Linked DNA regions of Homo sapiens: all the other regions are linked to region 2. The links are contacts of gene promoters, found by promoter capture Hi-C in blood cells and fetal thymus (Javierre and others, 2016). All regions are on one chromosome and are shown on one strand. Each heading gives the region's core, a stretch centred on a gene start or on the middle of the fragment in contact. The rest is flanking DNA. Distances are from core to core; before and after follow the strand shown. Region 1 overlaps MYRFL (myelin regulatory factor like). Region 2 holds the start of KCNMB4 (potassium calcium-activated channel subfamily M regulatory beta subunit 4). Region 3 overlaps MYRFL (myelin regulatory factor like). Region 4 overlaps MYRFL (myelin regulatory factor like).

The links. Contacts are between HindIII fragments. The CHiCAGO score rates a contact against its expected background, and 5 or more counts as called.
Region 1: a fragment that was not itself captured here is called in contact with the fragment with the promoter of KCNMB4 in region 2 in 3 of 17 cell types (M1 macrophages, M2 macrophages and endothelial precursors); the score reaches 9.1 in M1 macrophages.
Region 3: a contact is called between a fragment that was not itself captured here and the fragment with the promoter of KCNMB4 in region 2, in 5 of 17 cell types (monocytes, M1 macrophages, M2 macrophages and 2 more). The highest score is 8.0, in monocytes.
Region 4: a fragment that was not itself captured here is called in contact with the fragment with the promoter of KCNMB4 in region 2 in 2 of 17 cell types (monocytes and M0 macrophages); the score reaches 7.7 in monocytes.

What each region holds. Positions count from the first base shown.
Region 1 is chr12:69,890,978-69,893,677 of GRCh38, forward strand. MYRFL (myelin regulatory factor like) reads left to right here. Exons shown (of 25, transcript NM_182530.3): 7 at 1-189. Among named protein-coding and RNA genes, the nearest start is that of MYRFL, 67 kb to the left of the region's middle. RefSeq lists a silencer at 358-558. The HindIII fragment of the contact is 2,649 bases long and covers 54-2,700 here.
Region 2 is chr12:70,364,863-70,367,562 of GRCh38, forward strand. It overlaps KCNMB4 (potassium calcium-activated channel subfamily M regulatory beta subunit 4), which reads left to right and starts at 1,428. Exons shown (of 3, transcript NM_014505.6): 1 at 1,428-2,208. The coding sequence starts at 1,873. RefSeq lists a silencer at 1,244-1,483. The HindIII fragment of the contact is 11,202 bases long and covers 1-2,700 here.
Region 3 is chr12:69,911,157-69,913,856 of GRCh38, forward strand. The region is part of intron 13 of MYRFL (myelin regulatory factor like); the gene reads left to right. Among named protein-coding and RNA genes, the nearest start is that of MYRFL, 87 kb to the left of the region's middle. The HindIII fragment of the contact is 3,573 bases long and covers 1-2,700 here.
Region 4 is chr12:69,874,199-69,876,898 of GRCh38, forward strand. All of the region lies in intron 2 of MYRFL (myelin regulatory factor like), which reads left to right. Among named protein-coding and RNA genes, the nearest start is that of MYRFL, 50 kb to the left of the region's middle. The HindIII fragment of the contact is 4,392 bases long and covers 1-2,700 here.

The DNA of each region.
Region 1 (2,700 bases), core at 128-2,627, 470 kb before region 2:
GTGGGCTATCGAGTTGTAACAGACAAAGGATTTAATTTTTCACCAGCAGATGAAGCTTTTGTTTGCCAAAAGAAGAATCATTTCCAGATAACCATTCACATCCAAGTTTGGGGAAGTCCAAAATTTGTTGAAACCGAGATGGGCCTAAAGCCAATAGAAATGTTTTACTTGAAAGTTTTTGGCACTAAGGTATGTCTTTTATTTAGTTCAGTTTATATCAGTCAACATTTATTTTGTTTCAGTTGTCTATTGCTGCATGACAAACTATCCCAAAATGACTTAAAATAATAACAGTCCTTTATTTTGGTCACAAATCTGCAACTGGGTCAGCGTGTGACTATGACAACTCATCTTTGTTCAGAAGTCATCAACTGGGGCAGCTTAACTGGGCCATTTTCAAGAAGCACTCAGATGCCTGTTGAGTTTGGGCTGGCCATCAGCTGGAGCTCAAATGGGGCTCTAACTGACAGGGCTTAGCTCTTCTCCATGTGAACTGCTCTATGGGATAGCTTGTGTTTCTTCACACCATGGTGGCTGGCTTCTAAGGATAAACATTGCAAGACAAGTTAAGTGAAAGGTGTCAATTTCTTTCTTTCTTTCTTTCTTTCTTTCTTTCTTTCTTTCTTTCTCTTTCTTTCTTTCTTTCCTCCTTCCTTTCTTTTTCTTTCTTTCTTTCTTTCTTTCTTTCTTTCTTTCTTTCTTTCTTTCGTTCGTTCGTTCTTTCTTTCTTTTTTTCTTTGAGACATGGTCTTGCTCTGTCACCCAGGCTGGAGCACAGCAGCATGATTATGCCTCATTGCAGCCTTGACCTCCCAGGCTCAAGTGGGAGCCTCCCAAATAGCTGGGACCACAGGTGTGTGCCACCATGCTGGCTGTGTTTGTAGAGATGGGGTCTCACTATGTTGCCTGGGCTGGGCTTCAATTCCTGGGCTCAAGTGAGCCTCCTGCCTCAGTCTCCCAAAGTGCTGGGATAACAGGCATGAGCTACCATATCCAGCCAAGATGTCGATTTCGTAAGCCTGGGCTCAGAAAATGGCACGGCATCATTCAAATGATAGTTTTATAGTTTTCAGTGAATACTCTTGCAATTCTTTTACTAAATGTATTCTTAATTATTTTATTTTTATTGATGTTGATGCATTTTCATATGAAGTAGATTCATTATTTTCATCAAATTATCAAAGAGATCTGTGACCTAAAAAAAGCCAAGGAGCCACTAATTTAGTCAACGCCCTCCTGTACAGTTTAACAGAGGGGAGACTGAGGGCCAATAAGGTTACACAATTCATCCAAGGTAGTAAATGATAGAGCTCGGTTCAGAATGGAGGTAATATGACTTCTGAGTGATCAAAAAGTATTTCTTAAATTGTAACTTCATATCCAGTTCCTAAGAGGGAGAAGCATTCATTATCTGCCTATTTTGTTGTTTTTGTTGTTGTTTTGTTTTCTTTAAGACAGGGTTTCGCTCTGTCGCCTAGACTGGAGTGCAGTGGCTTTATCACAGCTCACTACAGCCTCAACTTCCTGGGCTCAAGCAATCCTCCTGCTTCTGCCTCCCAAAGTGTTGGAATTACAGGCATGAGCCATTGTGCCTGGCCTACATATTTTATTCTGATAGCTAACCTGGGCTTAGGCACTAAGGCTTGGCTGCTGCACACATAACTGTTCTTGCACCAAACTGAGCTCTTAAAAACAAAACAAAACAAAAACCAAAATACATATAAACATCAAACAAACAAGCAACAAAAAGACATTCTTTGTATGATTATGAATGTAATATAAGTTCATTGTGAAAATTTTGGAACATAATAGAAATGTATGAAAAAGAGATGAAATTCATTTGTATTTGGGATCCACCATTTGGTAGCCTATTTTTTCTCTTTTCTTCTGTTATTAAAATTAATCTCATATTGCTAGTAATATATTGTGGACATCACATTATATGATATTAGTAAGGACCCCATAAAAATATTGTTCACAAAGATAATATAGTTTTCCATTGTATGGATGCATCATATTAATTCCCTTATTATTAGAAGTTTTGTTTATTTTCCATTTTTTATTGTTAATAAAACTTCAGTGAACATCCACCCACCTTTGCATAAGGATACATTCCAGAAGGGGAATTTACACATGAAAGATACATATTATTAAAACTCTTGATGTAGGCCACCAGTTGCTTTCTAGAAAGATTTGTTACAATGTGAATACCCACCAGTTGTATATTACAGGGCTGATCTCACAAGTCTTTTCCAATATTCACAGAACAAGAAGAGTTTGTAGCAGATGCTGAATAAATGTTAATTCTTATGATTTGTTTATTATATTGTATATCATTGTTTCTTCATAGTAGAATGAATGTAAGCTCCCCAAGGACAGGAAATTTTGTTAATTGTGTTCAGTTCTTATCTCTAATGCCTAAAGCAGTTCCTCGTACATAGTGGGTGCTCCATAAGTACTTCTAGAATGAATGAATAAATAAGGAGCTGCCTTACTCCTGATGTTTCAGCCATCTTCCAGCCCTCTCTGTATTCACTGCCTACCTGAAATACTCTGTTGTCTTGTGTTCTCATTGTTTAATTTCACAGGTATTTATTTCTTTCCTCATCAACAGAATACCACGTTAAGGTAGGGACTATTGTCTTATGTGTCTTTTCAGTGACTTGTTCCTCCTGCCCAGTGCCTAGGATGATGCCTTGA
Region 2 (2,700 bases), core at 178-2,677:
AAGGTACTCAATACCAGTTAAGTAACATTTGAAGTCCAGGAAAGAGAAGTCAAGAATTCCATGATTCCATGTTTCCGTATTCATCAGGAACATAATTAAGAGTTTATTCATTTGAGACTTACAAGCAAACAAAAAAAGTTTATGTAGTTTGCAAGGAAGTTAATATTCTGATTTTATTCTTCGAAATGTACATATAAATAGTTCTCAAGTTTGATTTTATGATAAAAGTGTAGTTTGGGAAAAGGTCATTCTAACTTTAAAAAGGTCGCGAAAACAATAGAGGCTGAAGCATTGTTAGCGTAATTGGGGGAGGAGGGAGCAACGGCAAGAATTAAGAGCAGAACACAGGTCTAGAAACAGTACCTGTCCCAAAGTGGGTCTGCCCGGCGCTGTCGCTTTAAGCAGCGCTCCTGGAAACCTCATCTACAAATCCTGGGGCGGGTCAGGGGTGGCAAGACTCCTAAGGAGGGAAACGACAGAAATGATTCTGTTCTTGCGAGCCCCAAAGCAAGAGTACTTTTCTGATGGGTAAAGTGGTATTTCTTTCCAGGCTGCAAAGCTCTCCACCTTTTTCCTTTGGTCTCAGTCAGCCCCAGCCATGGGGGCAAATCAAGTTGGGGTCAACTCGGCTGCCAGAGACCTAAGTTGCCACAAGGGTCACCGACGACCTAAGCAGCAAGTTTCCTTCGTCCAGCCTCCTGCCCCCACGCACATTGCCTCCACAGCAAACTCCACCTGACTCAGCTTGTTTAACTCCAATCCTGCAGCCCTCCCGGCCTCAGCAGGGTCAGGGGGCGCGGGTCTGCGCCAAGACGGTTAGGAGGCCCAAGTCCTGGGACTGGACGGTTACTGCGCTCCCTTGGGCGCAGCCGCTGGCGGCGTGGGCGCGGCTGGGTCACGCCTCCGGCACCACCGCGCGCCAGCCCGCCCGTGGCATGGGAACCTGCGATTCAGTCGTCCCCGGGGACCTCCCAGCGCACACCGCTAGCCTGGGGCTTTCACCTCGATCCGCCCGGCCTGGGCGGCTCGTGTCCTCCCACACCGCCACCCGTGCCCGCTTCCCGGGGTGCGCCCGGAGCCTGGCCGCTCTCCCTGCAGGTGACCAGTACTCGTTTGGAGTTCAAGATTCCCGCCGCTCCACTTGAACTCCACCCTCCCCTCTTATTATTATTATTATTTTAACTTCCCTCCGGTTAAGCTAAATTGATCTTAATCTTTCATCTCGGACGTCCCTCTAAGGGGAGTGAGCGAAGATTCCGATTGCAAGTCGCCGCTGTCGCTTGTGCCCGTCAGCCCCTCGCCCAAAGGAGACGCCCCCGGGCGGGGCGGGGCGGAGCGGGGCGGGGCGGAAGGGCCCGGGTCTGCTGCGGACGGGGCGGGGCGGAGCCTCCTCCTGCACGGGGGAGCCCCCGGGCTCGCCCCAGCTCAGACACTCCTAGCCTTGGGGCAGCTGCCGGGCGAGTCAGCGGAGTAGCGGCCAGCGGGCGATGGAGACAGAGAGACACCCGACGAGAGGAGGCGGGGTGGGGGAGGCGGGGAGAGTGCGGGGGCGGAGGCTGGCAGGGGGCGCTGGAAGCTGGAGCGGTCCGTGCGCTCCCCGCGCCCGAGGGTGCAGGAGGCTCTGAAGCGGCTGCTGCACCGCGGGGCCCAGGCGGCGGCTGGGGGGCTGGGGGGCGCTGCCGCCGCCGCCGCCGGGGGCGTCGCTGGCCTCGGCCCCTTTGTTCTCGCGCGCTCCCCCTCGCCGCCCACTCCCCTGCTGTCGCGCGGCGGCGGCGGTGGCGGCGGCGGCTCCTCCCGCCCGAGGCAGTCGGGCTCGGCGCCGGGGGCGGGAGGGGGCGGGGGGAGCACGCCAGCCGCCGAGAGTGGGGGGCGATGGCGAAGCTCCGGGTGGCTTACGAGTACACGGAAGCCGAGGACAAGAGCATCCGGCTCGGCTTGTTTCTCATCATCTCCGGCGTCGTGTCGCTCTTCATCTTCGGCTTCTGCTGGCTGAGTCCCGCGCTGCAGGATCTGCAAGCCACGGAGGCCAATTGCACGGTGCTGTCGGTGCAGCAGATCGGCGAGGTGTTCGAGTGCACCTTCACCTGTGGCGCCGACTGCAGGGGCACCTCGCAGTACCCCTGCGTCCAGGTCTACGTGAACAACTCTGAGTCCAACTCTAGGGCGCTGCTGCACAGCGACGAGCACCAGCTCCTGACCAACCCCAAGGTAAGAACGCCCCGCGCACCCAGGGGCTCCCCGCGAGGGAGGTTTGGAGGCAGCGTCGGTGTTAGACTCCGCGCGGGGAGGGTTCGGCGTGTGCTCGCATTGCTAGGAGGAGACCAGGTGGCGCAGGCTGTGCTCAAACCAGGAATGACTACATCAGGGAGCCCCAGGGCTCCGGTCTTTTCAGGTGGGTTTACGCGCGGCGACCAGTGGTGCCCAGAGGCTTACTTTAAAACCTGTCTTGCCTGGTCTCAGATTTTGAGGCCTCGACCCAGTCCGGGTCCTGCGCCTACCGGACTGGGTTTGGAGAAGTGCAAGGAGCCAAGAAAGTTAACTTTTCCTCCATTTAAAGCCAGTGGTTAGCGGGGATCCACCTACTCCAGCTCACGGTCAAGGTCCGAGCTTCAGCTGGTCTCATCTAGAACTCAGATGGAATGACCTTCCTTGAAAGGTCGAGGGGACTCTCGAAAGTTGTGAGAGAGTTCCTCACCTTTT
Region 3 (2,700 bases), core at 131-2,630, 450 kb before region 2:
ATAGTAAGAATTCGAGTTCAGCAGATCTTAACTGGCACTAGGAAAGTCCACTTAGCATGAATGCACTTTAAACAAGGGCCAAACATCATGATAAATACTGACAAAAAAGTTTTAATTAGACTTCATCTTTTAAAATGGTAATAAACTTATGAAAAATGCATTATATTTTAGGTAATGCAACTTAAATTATAATTACACAATGTGTTTCTTCTTAGAATGATTAAAGATTAAGTGAAGTGTTGAATTTTTTGAGCATAGTTTTTTTGATGAAACGGTGTTTGACTTTTACAGTATAATCATAAAGTGAGTCATTTTTATGAAGATATTCATGGGCCTGATCATTTTTTTCCCAAGGGCCTCTCTTAATTCTTTGATATTCAAATCATTCTCTTTTGAAGGAATGCCATCATGCCTGTAGATTAGCTCGTCTTCATTTGGTAATGGGTCTAAATCTGCCAGTTCCTTGCTTGTCGATGCTGTGTGTATGATTTGAGGAGTTCCCTAATACCATATCTATTGATTCTATGAAATCCTGCATTTTTGCAAGGTTTGCAAATGCACTCTGATGCTGATTTGTTTTATACTGCATTATTATATTTGATGCTGAGAGGAAAGACCAATTGATATAAGGGTTTTGTAGTCATGGGGAGAGATGCTTGAGTGGAGACTAATTTATAATTTGTCAGTTAATGGAGGTAATGCTCCCTGAACTTCAAAGTGCACATGCATCACTGGGAATCTTATTAAAGTGTGGATTCTGATTCTGCAAGAATGGAGTGAGGCCAGAGATCCTGCAATTCCAACCAGCCTCCTGGTAATGCCAATCTTACCAACCTTGCTGGTCAGAAGCCACACTTGGAGCAGCAAAGCAGAGGATGCCTTTTCATGTTAGGCACCACCACCATCTTCCACCTACCAGCCACTGTACCACAAACTCTTAGATGACATGGTCTGGGAGGCCTGCTCAGCCCAGGGCTGCAAGAGCACAGTGGCAGAAGTTGACTTACTGCCTCCTGCTTCCCAAGAACATATCTTCGATAGAAGCAATTCTTCAGTCTCTCTCCCAGACCTGGGCTATCATTTCACTTGAGAGGTATATCATGAAACATTTATTTATATATTTATTTCCCAGGTTTTTTATTGTGGTAAAATACACAAAACATAACATGTATTATCTTAACCATTTTTAAGCATACAAGTCATTGATGTTTGATACGTTCATCATGTTATACAACCATCACCACCATCCATCTCCAGAACTCTTTTTCATATTGTAAAACAAAAACTCTGTACCTGTAAAACAATAACTCCCCATTATCCACTTTCCCTAGCCCCTGGCAACCACAATTCTATTGTCTGTTTCTATGATTCTGACTACATATAAGCAGAATCATAGAGCATTTCTTTCTTTTTTTGTGGCTGGCTTATTTCACTTAGCTTAATGTCCTCGAGGTTCATCTATGTTGCAGTGTGTATCAAAATTTCCTTTCTTTTTAAGACTGAATAATTTTCACCTTTATTCACATTTTGCATATCCATTCCTATGTTGATGAACTCTTGGGTTGCTTCCATGTTTTAGGTATTGTGAATAATACTGCTATGATTGTCAGTATTCAAATGTCTCTTCAATATTCTGTTTTCAATTTAGGGGGAATATTTACTCAGAAGTGGAACTGCTGGATCACATGGCAATTCTATTTTTAATTTTTTGAGGAACCACCATACTATTTCCCATGTGACGATATCATTTTACATTCCCACCAACAGTTCCCAAAGATTCCAGTTTGTCCACGTCCTCACCGATGCTTGTAATTTTTTTTTTCTTTTTTCAAACAGAAGCCATCCAAATGGGTGTGAGGTGATATCTCATTCTAGTTTTGATTTACATTTCCTTAATGATTAGTGATGTTGCACATCTTTTCATGTGTTTATTGTTCATGTATATATCTTCTTTGGAAAAATGTCAATTCAAGTCCTTTGCCCATTTTTGACTTGGGTTGTTTACTGTTGTTAGGTTTCAGGAATTCTCTATATATTCTGGATATTAATCCCTTATGAGATATATAATTTGCAAATATTTTCTCCCATTCTGTGGGTTGTCTTTTCACTTTCTTAATAGTGTCTTTATGTACAAAAGTTTTAAATTTTAATGATATCCAGTTTATCTATTTTCCCTTTTGTTGCCTATGCCAATGGTGTTCTATCCAGGAAATCATTGCCAAATCCAATATTGTAAAGATTGTGCCCTTTGTTTTCTTTGAAGAGTTTTATAATTTTAGGTTTTACATTCCTGTTTTTGATCCATTTTTAGTTAATATTTGTGTTAGGTAAGAGTCCAGCTTCATCCTTTTGTATATGGATACCCAGTTTTCCTGGCACAATTTGTTGAAAAGACTGTCCTTTTCCCATTGAATGGTCTTGGCATCCTTGTCTAAAATCATTTAACCATATATGTGAGAGTTTATTTCTGTGCTGTTTATTATATTCCATTTGTCTGTATGTCTGTCTTTATGCCAGTACCACACTGTTTTGATTACTCTAACTCTGTAGTAAGTTTTGAAATCAGGAAGTGTGAGTCATACGGCTTTGTTCTTGTTTGGGGGGATTTCCTTGTCTATTTTCAGGGTCTCTTAAGATCCCACGTGAATTTTAGAATAGATCTTTCTATTTCTGCAAAAGACAACGTTGGGATTTTGATAG
Region 4 (2,700 bases), core at 108-2,607, 490 kb before region 2:
AATAACTTCTCAGCCTGTTGCTCAGGCTAGGGAGCAGTGGCAACTCATGGCTCACTCAAGCCTCATTCTCCTGGGCTCAAGCGATCCTTCAGCCTCAGCTTCCTGAGTAGCTGGGAGCACAGGTGCATGCCACCACGCCCTGCTAATTTTAATATTTTTTGTAGAAACAGGGTCTTCCCATGTTGTCCAGGCTAGTCTTAAGCTCCTGGTCTTAAGCAACTCTTCTCCTTCGGCCTCCCAAAGTGCTGGGATTATAGGCATGAGCCACTGTGCCCACCTTCAGATGTATTTTTAAAAATTAAGATAAAAAATAATTTACATTCAATAATATATCATTTTTATTCTCTTCATACCTTTTCATAGTTTCAAATTTCCATCTAGAACCATTTCCCTTTAGCCTGAATAACTGTCTTTAACATTTCTTATTGTACATGTCTATTCTCAAATTCACTTAGTTTTCTTTTATCTCAAAATATCTTTATTTTGCTTTCATTCTTGAAGACTATTTTCATTGGATATCAAATTCTGGCTTACCAATTTTGTTTTTCTGTAGCACTTTAAAGATGTTTTTGTACTGTCTTCTGGCCTCTGGAGATTTTGATTAGTCAGTGATTATTTGAATCACTATGACCCTGCACATAAGGTACTGTTTTTCTTTAGCTACTTTTAAGACTTTCTCTTTATTTTTGGCTTACAGTTACTCCACTCTGATGCGGTAGATGTATTTATTTTGCTGAGCTTCTTAAAGATATAAATGTATGTATCTTTAAAGATATAAATGTATATATCTAAGATATATACATTTATATCTTTAAGAAGCTCAGCAAAATAAATACATCTACCACATCAGAGTGAAGTATATATCTTCATAAAGATATATACATTTATATCTTTTCCTAAATTTAGGAAGATTTTGGCTGTTATATCTTAATTTTTTTTTCTGTTTCATCCTCTCTGCAGGTTCATAAATCTCTTTTTCTCTCTCTTTTTTAAAGTTCATTTTTTTCCTCTCTGTTGTTTAGATGGGATGATGTCTATTGATGTATCTTTGAGTTCTGTTTTAAGCCCATCTAATAATTTTTTTAAATTTTTATTTCTGGAATTTTTCTAATCTTAGAATTTCTATTTAGTTTTTTTATTTGTAGTTTTGATTTCTTTGCTGAGATTTTATTTATTTTTTTTCACAAGCATGTGCTTGTCTGCTCCATTTAGCTTCTTATAGTAGCTGCTTTAAAGATCCTTGTCTGCTAATCCAGTATCTGGATCATTTCTGGGTTAGTGTTCACAGATTGTTCTCTCCCTCCAAGCTAGGCCACATTTTTCTGGTTCTTTGTAGAGAGCAGTTTTTCCAACCCCTGCCGGTGGACTGCTACGGGTCCATGGCCTGATAGGAACCTGGCTGCAAGAGCATTCCCGCCTGGGCTCTGCCTCCTGTCAGATCAGCAGCGGCATTAGAGCGGCATTAGGAGCGGGAACCCTGTTGTGAACTGCACAGGCGAGGGGGATCTAGATTGCATGTGCCTTATGAAAATCTAACTAACGCCTGATGATCTGAGATGGAGCAGTTTCATCCCGAAACCATCCCCCGCCCCCACTACGTCCATCTCTTCCATGAAATCAGTCTCTAGTGCCAAAAAGGTTGGGGATTGCTGTTGTAGAGTAGTTTTTGTACCTGGACATTGTGAATGGCTGGATTCTTTTACATCCCTCAGAAGAGTATACTTTTGTTTTAGTAGTCAATCACTTTGCTTAGACTCAAATTGTAAACTTTGTCTCGGGAAGTAACTCAAATTTCAGTTCAGTCCTGTTGTCTTTGGTTGGGCTGTGCGCAGTCTGCCCCATATATGATAGATCAGGAGTCAGCAATAGATTTGGCAGAGTTACACACAGAATCCAGGGGTCCCCTGCTCTTATCTTTCTTTTCCAAGATTCCTCTTTCACTTTTCAGCAGCTGTGTTTGCCCCAAAATTTGTTTTCTGGTTATTCAGGCCAGGAAGGCTGTGGATTTCTATCGGAGGTTAGCTGTCCTGTGGCTCTGACTTCAACCAGCCCTCAGACTAAATGCTGTAAACAAGAAACTCACTGTATGGCAGTACCTTCTCCAAGTTTCAGTGCCCACCACAATCTCCTTGCTTTTGTCTAGTTTCCAGTGTCTTTGGGTAGGTGGTGTTTTTTGTTTTGTTTTGTTTTTGTTTTTAAAGTATTTCCAGCATTTGTACTGTTTCTCTGTGGGAGGGTCAGATTTGGTAGGAGTTTAATCATCATATAAGAAGGGGGAAAAAAAAACGAAAAGAGCTCTTTGTGATTCTTTAGCATTCCCTATTTATCTGGTTTTGTTCTCTGTCTTTAATGTTAAAGCCTTTCTCAAAATGTCTGGTCCTTTATTGTTTGTTCGTGTTTAAAAAGTTCTGTGTGCAAACCATTGTTCTCATCCAAGGATGAATTTCTTGGTAGAGTGATGAAGGAGGGGATGGCTATTTCCTTGGTAACTTGAAAATACTACGTTTTCCTCGAGTACATTCCATTTTTCTTGGGAACATTATTCCAATTTCTTACTTGTGGGAAATCTGCTTGGATACATGCAAAACAGAGTTAAGGAAAAGACTCAGAATTCAGTGGTTAGATTTTTAATGAATTCTTCTATTTTTTCAGCCCAGTAGCTCAGCCACAGCATTCACTGTGCCTGGTAACCCTGTACCA